2 separate regions of the Homo sapiens genome follow, and region 2 is linked to region 1. Evidence: promoter capture Hi-C in 16 types of primary human blood cells and fetal thymus (Javierre and others, 2016). All regions are on one chromosome and are shown on one strand. Each heading gives the region's core, a stretch centred on a gene start or on the middle of the fragment in contact. The rest is flanking DNA. Distances are from core to core; before and after follow the strand shown. Region 1 holds the start of ESF1 (ESF1 nucleolar pre-rRNA processing protein). Region 2 overlaps MKKS (MKKS centrosomal shuttling protein).

Evidence for each region. Contacts are between HindIII fragments. The CHiCAGO score rates a contact against its expected background, and 5 or more counts as called.
Region 2: a contact is called between a fragment that was not itself captured here and the fragment with the promoter of ESF1 in region 1, in 2 of 17 cell types (total CD8 T cells and non-activated CD4 T cells). The highest score is 10.2, in total CD8 T cells.

What each region holds. Positions count from the first base shown.
Region 1 is chr20:13,782,002-13,786,198 of GRCh38, reverse strand. ESF1 (ESF1 nucleolar pre-rRNA processing protein) reads left to right here and starts at 1,280. Exons shown (of 14, transcript NM_001276380.2): 1 at 1,280-1,319; 2 at 3,016-3,695. The coding sequence starts at 3,059. NDUFAF5 (NADH:ubiquinone oxidoreductase complex assembly factor 5) reads right to left here and starts at 1,171. Exons shown (of 11, transcript NM_024120.5): 1 at 909-1,171. The coding sequence starts at 1,130. RefSeq lists enhancers at 261-950, 946-1,235. The HindIII fragment of the contact is 9,427 bases long and covers 1-4,197 here.
Region 2 is chr20:10,421,247-10,425,443 of GRCh38, reverse strand. All of the region lies in intron 1 of MKKS (MKKS centrosomal shuttling protein), which reads left to right. All of the region lies in intron 1 of LOC128706665, which reads left to right. All of the region lies in intron 1 of LOC128706666, which reads left to right. Among named protein-coding and RNA genes, the nearest start is that of MKKS, 11 kb to the left of the region's middle. The HindIII fragment of the contact is 8,150 bases long and covers 1-4,197 here.

The DNA of each region.
Region 1 (4,197 bases), core at 31-2,530:
TTTGTTGCATTATACTTGACTCCAACTTTGTTCCACTCCTGAATAAAAATTTACTGAGGCCTGAACTTGAGAATGCGTGTCCTGAAAGTAGAAACCCTCAGTCTCTGGCTCACCTGGGCAGGGAGAAAGGTTTCTCAAACGAGCCAAGACAAATCAGAAATCTTAATTTGATCTTCCTAAAACATAAGTCAGATCACTCCACTGATTAAAACAAGAGCTTCACATTCCCCTAGAGCAGTGCTGACCAAAAATCATGAGAGCCACATATGTAATTTCAAATTTTCTAGTAGCCACATAAGAAAAAAAGTAAAAACGAGAGAAATTTTAATTGAAAAATTTAAATTTATATTTAATATATTTCATGTGACCCAATATATCAAAAATAATCACTGCAACATGTAATCAATATAAAAGCTCTTAATGAGCTATTTTACATCCTTTTTTCATACTAAGTCACTATACTCGTGTGTATTTTACAACACATCTCAATTGGACTAGTCACCTTTCAAGTGTTCAACAGCCACATGTGTGGCCGGCAGTTACCATACTGGCTGGACAGTGCAGATACAGAAGAAAACCCCAAGTCCCTATCCTGCAAGGCCCTGATGATTTGGGTCCTCCTAACCTTCTCTCCCACTCTCTCCCTCTCCGGAGCTTCACTGGAGGCCTCTATAAGGTCCTTTCAGCCTCAAGGACGTTGCCGAAATGAATGCATGAATGAATGAAAGCATGTTACAAATATCCGAGGCCAGGCCTTGCGTGATTACAGTAGAGGCCGAAAGAGGCAGGGCTGCTGGTCAAGGTCAGACGGCTAGGTGGGGTGAGCTCGGGGCCTAGCCGGAACTAGCGGAGAGGAAAACAAGCCTCCGCGTCGCCCGCCCCGCCGCCCCGCCGCCCCGCGGGCTCACCTCCTCCTTCAGGTAGTCAAATTTGGTCGGCTCGGGCTGCCGGGCTGCCCAGTTCTTCTGTTTCCTTTTCAAATCCCGGTCGAAAATATTCAGGGTTCTGGGCGAGGTGCTACCGCGGGGAGAGACACCAGAGGTGACTTCCCTACGGCCAAGATTCTCCGCTGGGACCCTCGCCGCCCAAGGTCGCCGACATAAGCGCCAGAGCCCTGCCGGCCGCAGCATCTCCAGCTGCGACCCCAATTGCCGGCGCTTTTTGTGCGCATGCGCCAGCGCGGCTTTTGTGTCTACTCCAAAGATCTTCTCGAGGGAACGTGCAAGTAGTTTGGCCTAGTTCGCTTGCCATTACGGCGGAGCGTCACGCGGAGGATTGTGGGTGTGAGCCCCACGTGAGGCTTGGTAGGACTGCGGACGGTGAGTGGGGATGGACTGGAGTTGAAGAGCTCGAGATGAAGGGCTTGAGGGCGTGTGTGTGTGTGGCGCGGGGAAAAAACTAGTCTCTAACAGGATCTCTTTCGGATCTGCGAGGGGTTTTGCCCCTTCCTCCTGAGCCTTTTTCGGTCTCATTCTTCAGTCTTCATCGATCCTTTTCAGGGTCGCTTCTCGAATCAGTCTGTTAGCTGCCCCCCTGCGGTACAGGAGGTGGAAAGGAGACCCTAGTTCAGGGGCCAGCCCTGTGTTCTCCGAATTAGAGAGCGGGCAGAAGGGGAGGGTGGGCTACGGGGATGCGGGCGCGTGTCGGGAGTGAGGTCCGGTCGCCTTCCCCTCTCTCGGATTATCTGACATATAATGAGTGCTTTCCTTCTAAACATTTACAATACATGCAGTACTTCTCCTGGTTGAGGTGGTACCTACCTCGTAAGATTGCTCAGAGAGTTAAGTGCTGTAATACATCGAAAAATGTGTAAATGCACCAGCGATAGCTTCCTTTTTTTTCCTAGTTAGTGTAATTAAAAGGACTTGATTTTTAAATAAGAAATATTGCCCTTTTAATCATTTTGGGGGGGGGTTGCTTAATAATCAACGACTTTTGGCTCTTTGCAAAATTCCCATCCAGAGATGCTAAACCATTGGAGACTTTTCACAAGGGAACAATATTAATTTATACACACATATGTATATGTTCTAGTATGTTTTGGGGGAATGAGCTCACTTGGGCCTTCATCACTGGTAGAATCAGATATTATAGAAAGAAGTGATATTTATTAACTGGTGTGAGACTTTACCTGGAGACTCAAATTTACTTTTTATTTTTAAACTTTTTATTACTTTTGAAGGATGATCGAATTTAAAAAGGAAACTTTCTTAGCTAAACCTGAGTTGATTTTGGTCTGTTTAGTTAGAATGCTAGTCTTACAGAACTAAAGGCTGTTTGTTGGCAGTAGCCGGAGATAAGGAGTAAGCAGAATGAGACCAGAATGTGAAGAAACAAATGAGGCCAACGGAGGCTAGGGAATCTTTCTTTCTTACTTTTTTTTGGTAGACAGGGTCTCACTCTGTTGCCCCAGCTGGTGTGCTGTAGTGCCGTTAGGCTCACTCTAGCCAAGACCTCCCGGGTGGAAGTGATCCTCTTGCCTTAGCCTCCAAAGTAGCTGGGACTACAGGCGCGCGCCACCATGCCGGGCTCATTTTTGTATTTCTTGTGGGGATTCACCATGTTACCCAGGCTGGTCCTGAACTCCTGGGCTCAAGTGATCCGCCCGCCTTGGCCTCCGAAAGTGCTGGTGAGCCACCGCACTCGGCCTAGGGAATCTTAACTACATTTGCCTTCAATTAGTAACACATACTGGTATACAAATAGAAATTCTAAGTGAGAGCAATGGATGAATAAACATTTGTTCCCCTCCATAAAGCCCTGGGATTCTGCTTTGTCTACCTTAAGTTTATTTCTCTAAATGATCTGTCATGGAAAGAGGATATTTTGGTATGTTTCTGCTTTTTTGCATGTGACCCAGAATACGTTGGAGAGATGAAATTAGACTTGTTACCTCTATTTTATGTACACTTAACTTAGAATATATTAACTTAGAATATATTGTGAATGTGTTTTAAAACATTTAATTATTGTACTAACCATTATTACCATTAAAACATTTGTTTTATTTTTCAGTATTTGTTTTCTTCAAGCATTTGGTCGAGATTAAGAATTAAAAATGTCATCCAAACAAGAAATAATGAGTGACCAGCGGTTTAGACGGGTTGCAAAGGACCCGAGATTTTGGGAAATGCCAGAAAAGGATCGAAAAGTCAAAATTGACAAGAGATTTCGAGCCATGTTTCATGACAAGAAGTTCAAGTTGAACTATGCCGTGGATAAAAGAGGGCGCCCCATTAGCCATAGCACTACAGAGGATTTGAAGCGTTTTTACGACCTTTCAGATTCTGATTCCAATCTCTCTGGTGAAGATAGCAAAGCATTGAGTCAAAAGAAAATAAAGAAGAAAAAAACCCAGACTAAAAAAGAAATCGATTCAAAAAATCTAGTTGAGAAAAAGAAAGAAACCAAGAAGGCTAATCACAAGGGTTCTGAAAATAAAACTGATTTAGATAATTCTATAGGAATTAAAAAAATGAAAACCTCATGTAAATTTAAGATAGATTCAAACATAAGTCCGAAGAAGGATAGCAAAGAATTTACACAAAAAAATAAGAAAGAGAAAAAAAACATTGTTCAACATACTACAGACTCTTCTCTCGAAGAAAAACAAAGGACATTAGACTCAGGCACCTCTGAAATTGTGAAATCTCCCAGAATCGAGTGTTCTAAGACAAGAAGAGAAATGCAATCAGGTAGGTTGGAAAAAATTAGAGATTCTTGGGTGTTACATTATTTATTTTTATACTGATCTTTCAAAAATGTAAACACATTAATAAGTATTTTCATAGTATTATGGAATGGTCAAATGCTTATCTGGAAATACAAAGCTATAAAAGAAATATGCAGTGATTATTAATTTTTGATGTGGTGCTAGAAGACAGACATGAAAATTTGAATCTTGAAGTTAAACAGTGATTTTGATTAGTGGTGAGCCCTAATGAGAACTATATTCTCTAACCAGATAAAGTGTTATATGTCATCACATGATAAGAAGAGATGTGTCTAAAGAGGGTAAGTAGGCCGGACATGGTGGCTCACGCCTGTAATCCCAGCACTTTGGCAGGCCAAGGCGGGCAGATCACTTGAGGTCAGGAGTTCAAGACCAGCCTGGCCAACATGGTGAAACCCCATCTCTACTAAAAATAAAAAAAAATAGCCAGGCATGGTGGCGCACACCTGTAGTCCCAGCTATTC
Region 2 (4,197 bases), core at 1,160-3,659, 3.4 Mb after region 1:
AAATTTGTTAATTCTGAAAAGCAGCACATAGAGGCTTTGAGCATGGACTCTGGAGTATTTACACAAATATTTATTGCCATAGCATATTTTGCAATAAAGCATTGAAAAATCTCAAATTTCTTTCAATCACAGATTGGTCAAATTAGGATATCGCCATTATAATCAAATGCTGTATAGCTCTTAAAAATGATAATGGAGATTTATATTCTTTGCAAGAGGGATTACAAAACAGCATGTGTATCATGATCACATTTTTGTTACACCCAAAAGATTTTAGCTCTCTTTTCCTTGTTTCTATATTTGCTAACTTTAAAAAGTAAGGTTATACTATACTATATTTATTAGAAAAGAACAGTAATGCTAATTTTCTTTCTTTCTTTTTTTTTTTTTGAGACGGAGTTTAGCTCTTGTTGCCTAGGTGGGAGTGCAATGGCATGATCTTGGCTCACTGCAACCTCCGCCTCCCAGGTTCAAGTGATTCTTCTGCCTCAGCCTCCCGAGTAGCTGGGATTACAGGCGCCTGCCACCACACCAGCCTAATTTTTTGTATTTTTAGTAGAGACAGGGTTTCACCATGTTGGCCAGACTGGTCTCAAACTCCTGACCTCAGGTGATCCACCTGCCTCGGCCTCCCAAAGTGCTGGGATTACAGGCATGAGCCACCGTGCCCTGCTCTAATTTTCATTTTGTAAAAAACCACAGAGGAACTAAGAAGAAAAAAAGTGCTAAATTTAAATTGTATCCCCAAAATATGTTTGATTGTAAGTAAAAGCTCTGCAAGAGTTTATAAACAAAATAAATAACACATTACCTCGCTAACTACCATATCAAATATAAAATTTGAAAACTATTTTTTTTTTTGTAAAACTAGCAATGAGCTTTGCTAGTAAGGTATAGTAAGGTCTAATGTGTCTTGCCCTGAGAAGAGGTTATGCAGGCAATAGAATACATCCAATGTACTGGAGATTTTTCACTATTAAGTGAAAGAAATGAAGTAGTTTAAAGTTATATGCCAATGTCATTTTTTAAAAATATATGTTTTTTCTTTTAAAATAGAGATGAAGTCTCACTGTATTGCCCAGGCAGTCTCGAACTCATGGGCTCAAGCAGTCCCCCTGCCTGAGCCTCCTAGAGTGCTGGGGTAACAGGTGTGAGCCACTGTGCCTGGCCTTTTTTTTTCCTTTTTATTTAATATATATTTTTTTCTTTTAAAATAGAGATGAGGTCTCATTATATGCCAATGTCATTTTAAAGTGCTAATTCCATCTTGCTCAGTGAAAAGGGACTATTATATGTACAGTGTGATACTTATTGTTTTTATGTGAATTAAATGAAAACTCTAAAAATAGTTTGTAACGTGAAAAGCCCTTCCATACTGATCCTAATCATTTCCCAAGCCTCTCAAAGGACAACAGAATTATCTGTCAGAAAATAGTTACTTGCTCTCTCACCCCCATTAGCCAAATCAATATATGAGATATGGAGAATTTGAGGAAGTGGGGACATGTAGATGTTCAGTAAACATTAAAGCAATTAATCATTAAATCAGTCTACATCATTTACTAACCAGGAAATACTGTACTGAGTCTCAGTGATGTTTAGCAAATAGAGTTTTCAGTTAAAATAGATACTGATTTCCAGGTTTAACTAAACCTAAATCTAGAAAAAGATTCATCGATCCTTAAGTTATCCTAATGGAAAGAGTAATAGACTGTTAAGCACAATATACATAAAATTGAGCATTTCTTTTATCTTTAACTGGGAGATGACCTAAAGATTCACTAAGTATTATAGGGAGCTAACCCTATATAATTTTCACTCTTCTCAAAGAGGGTTCATACTATGTCATTACATGCTGTTAACCACTTTGCTGGAGAGAATAGTACAACACTTCCCCAAACATTAGTGTTACAGATTGTCATTTAATTTGTTCCTAATTTTAGTTCTTGAGTTACAAATCTCAATTTTATTATTACATCCTTTTATCCTATCCAGTCTCTTTTTTGCTTTTGGTTTGTTTTTTTGAAACGATCGCATTTCATCACCTGTCCTGGAGTGCAATGGTGTTATCTCAGCTCACCGCAGCCTCAGCCTCCCAAGGTCCAAGCGATCCTCCTACCTCAGCACCCCCCACGCAGCTAGAACTACAGGCGTGCGCCACCATGCCCAGCTAATTTTTGTATTTTTTGTAGAAACGGGTTTTGCCACGTTGCCTAGGCTCAAGTGATCCGCCCACCTCAGGCTCCCGAAGTGTTAGGATTACACTTTTGTGAGCCACTGCACCTGGCCCTAATCTCTTTTTATAAGCTAGGGTTTTTTTTCCTTGAGTTTATAGTTCAGAAAAAAGCTGACAAATGTTGAATTATGTTAATGATCATGGAGAAGTAAATGGTGAATGGCAGAAATGGCTCTTAAAAGTAATGTGACTTGAAGGGCCGGGCGCAGTGGCTCACACCTGTAATCCCAGCACTTTGGGAGGCCGAGGCGAGCGGATCGCAAGGTCAGGAGATCGAGACCATCCTGGCTAACACGGTGAAACCCTGTCTCTACTAAAAATACAAAAAATTAGCCAGGTGTGGTGGCGGGCACCTGTAGTCCCAGCTACTCGGGAGGCTGAGGCAGGAGAATGGCGTGAACCTGGGAGGCGGAGCTTGCAGTGAGCTGAGATCGCACCACTGCACTACAGCTTGGGTGACAGAGCAAGACTCTGTCTCACAAAAAAAAAAAAAAGATAATATAACTTGATAACCTCATGTTGAGGGGAATAGAGGTGCCAAAGTCACCTTAAGTATTGAGACTGGATATAAATAACAGTATCTTCTAGGCCTTTAGTTAAGGTGTTTGCAAACAAGAATGCCATATGTCAATCAACACAGGCCAGCTGACCTTTGGTGCAGCCTCTGTCCCTCCTATAAGTAAGTAGCCCTTAATAGAATTCTTCCCTCCTTACTCTAAATTCCTCCCCCAGTTATTTTATTGTACCCTTAAATTCCCAAAGGCTTTTGCCTTTGGACTTCACAATGAAATTTAATTATGATACAGTTATTTGTAATTGATTCCCTCTAAAAATGGAACATAAGCATGTCAATAAAAGGTGTATTCTCTAAAGGTTACAAAAAGTATATAGTATACCACAGTACGTTAGAAAAGGAAAAGGCCATAAAATACTTTCATTTACAAAGCAGGTCGTGTTTCCTCTATCTAGTAATTAAAATTTTGCCACAAAGTCCTTATAAAATATGAATTGAGACCTTTGGGAGAAATGATTTATAATGCTAAGAATAACATGTTCATAGCTATAAGATAACATCTTTTATTATTTTTAGTATGTATACACAGAACACAGATGGTTCAGACTATTTAACTCAGTACTATTGTGTTTTGGTCTTAAAAGGGGGAATAAGAAATTCTTTTCAGACCTTTTTCTAATGGCATTTAGACAAAAATAAAGTAATTTAGGAGATTTCATGGTACTAAAACTCAGAGATGCAATTGAGCCAAGTTCATAGCATGTCTCATAGATGGTGGAGCAGTCCTTATTAAGAGTATAAGGAGTCTTTAGAGGTTGTCCAGATTCAAGTTCCCAAACCCAACAGATCATCAAACATAGCATCTTTCTGGGCCCTACTTCCATCCTTTCCAAATTTAAAATATATATATATATATTTTAAAAGCTAACTAACTTTGTAACTCCAGGCAACTGTCTAGCCCCAGTTTCTTTGTCTAAACTAGGTCGATAACCCTGTAAGTTAGGGTTTTCTAGTGATTCAGGGCAAACACTCTAAAATGCAGTAGTTTTGCACATAAATGTGGAAATGGCATTACATTCATTCTGATTTGTAGCGTTCAAGCCAGAAATCTTTTACTGCAATTGGAATCCATGTTCAGCTGTTGCAATCGCAGTTGAAACACTATCACTACATCCTGTCAGAATATAGAACCTAAATTCTTACTGCATATTTGTGGATTACCGTTTGATTCTTCTGTTAAAATTGTGACTAAATGTAATTTTTTTTTTTTTTTTTTTGTGATGGAGTCTCATTCTGTTGCCTAGTGCAGTGGCATGATCTTGGCTCACTGCAACCTCCACCTCCCAAGTTCAAGCAAGTCTCCTGACTCAGCCTCCAGAGTAGCTAGGATTACAGGCATGCGCCACCATATCCGACTAATACTTTTAGTAGAAACGATGTTTCACTG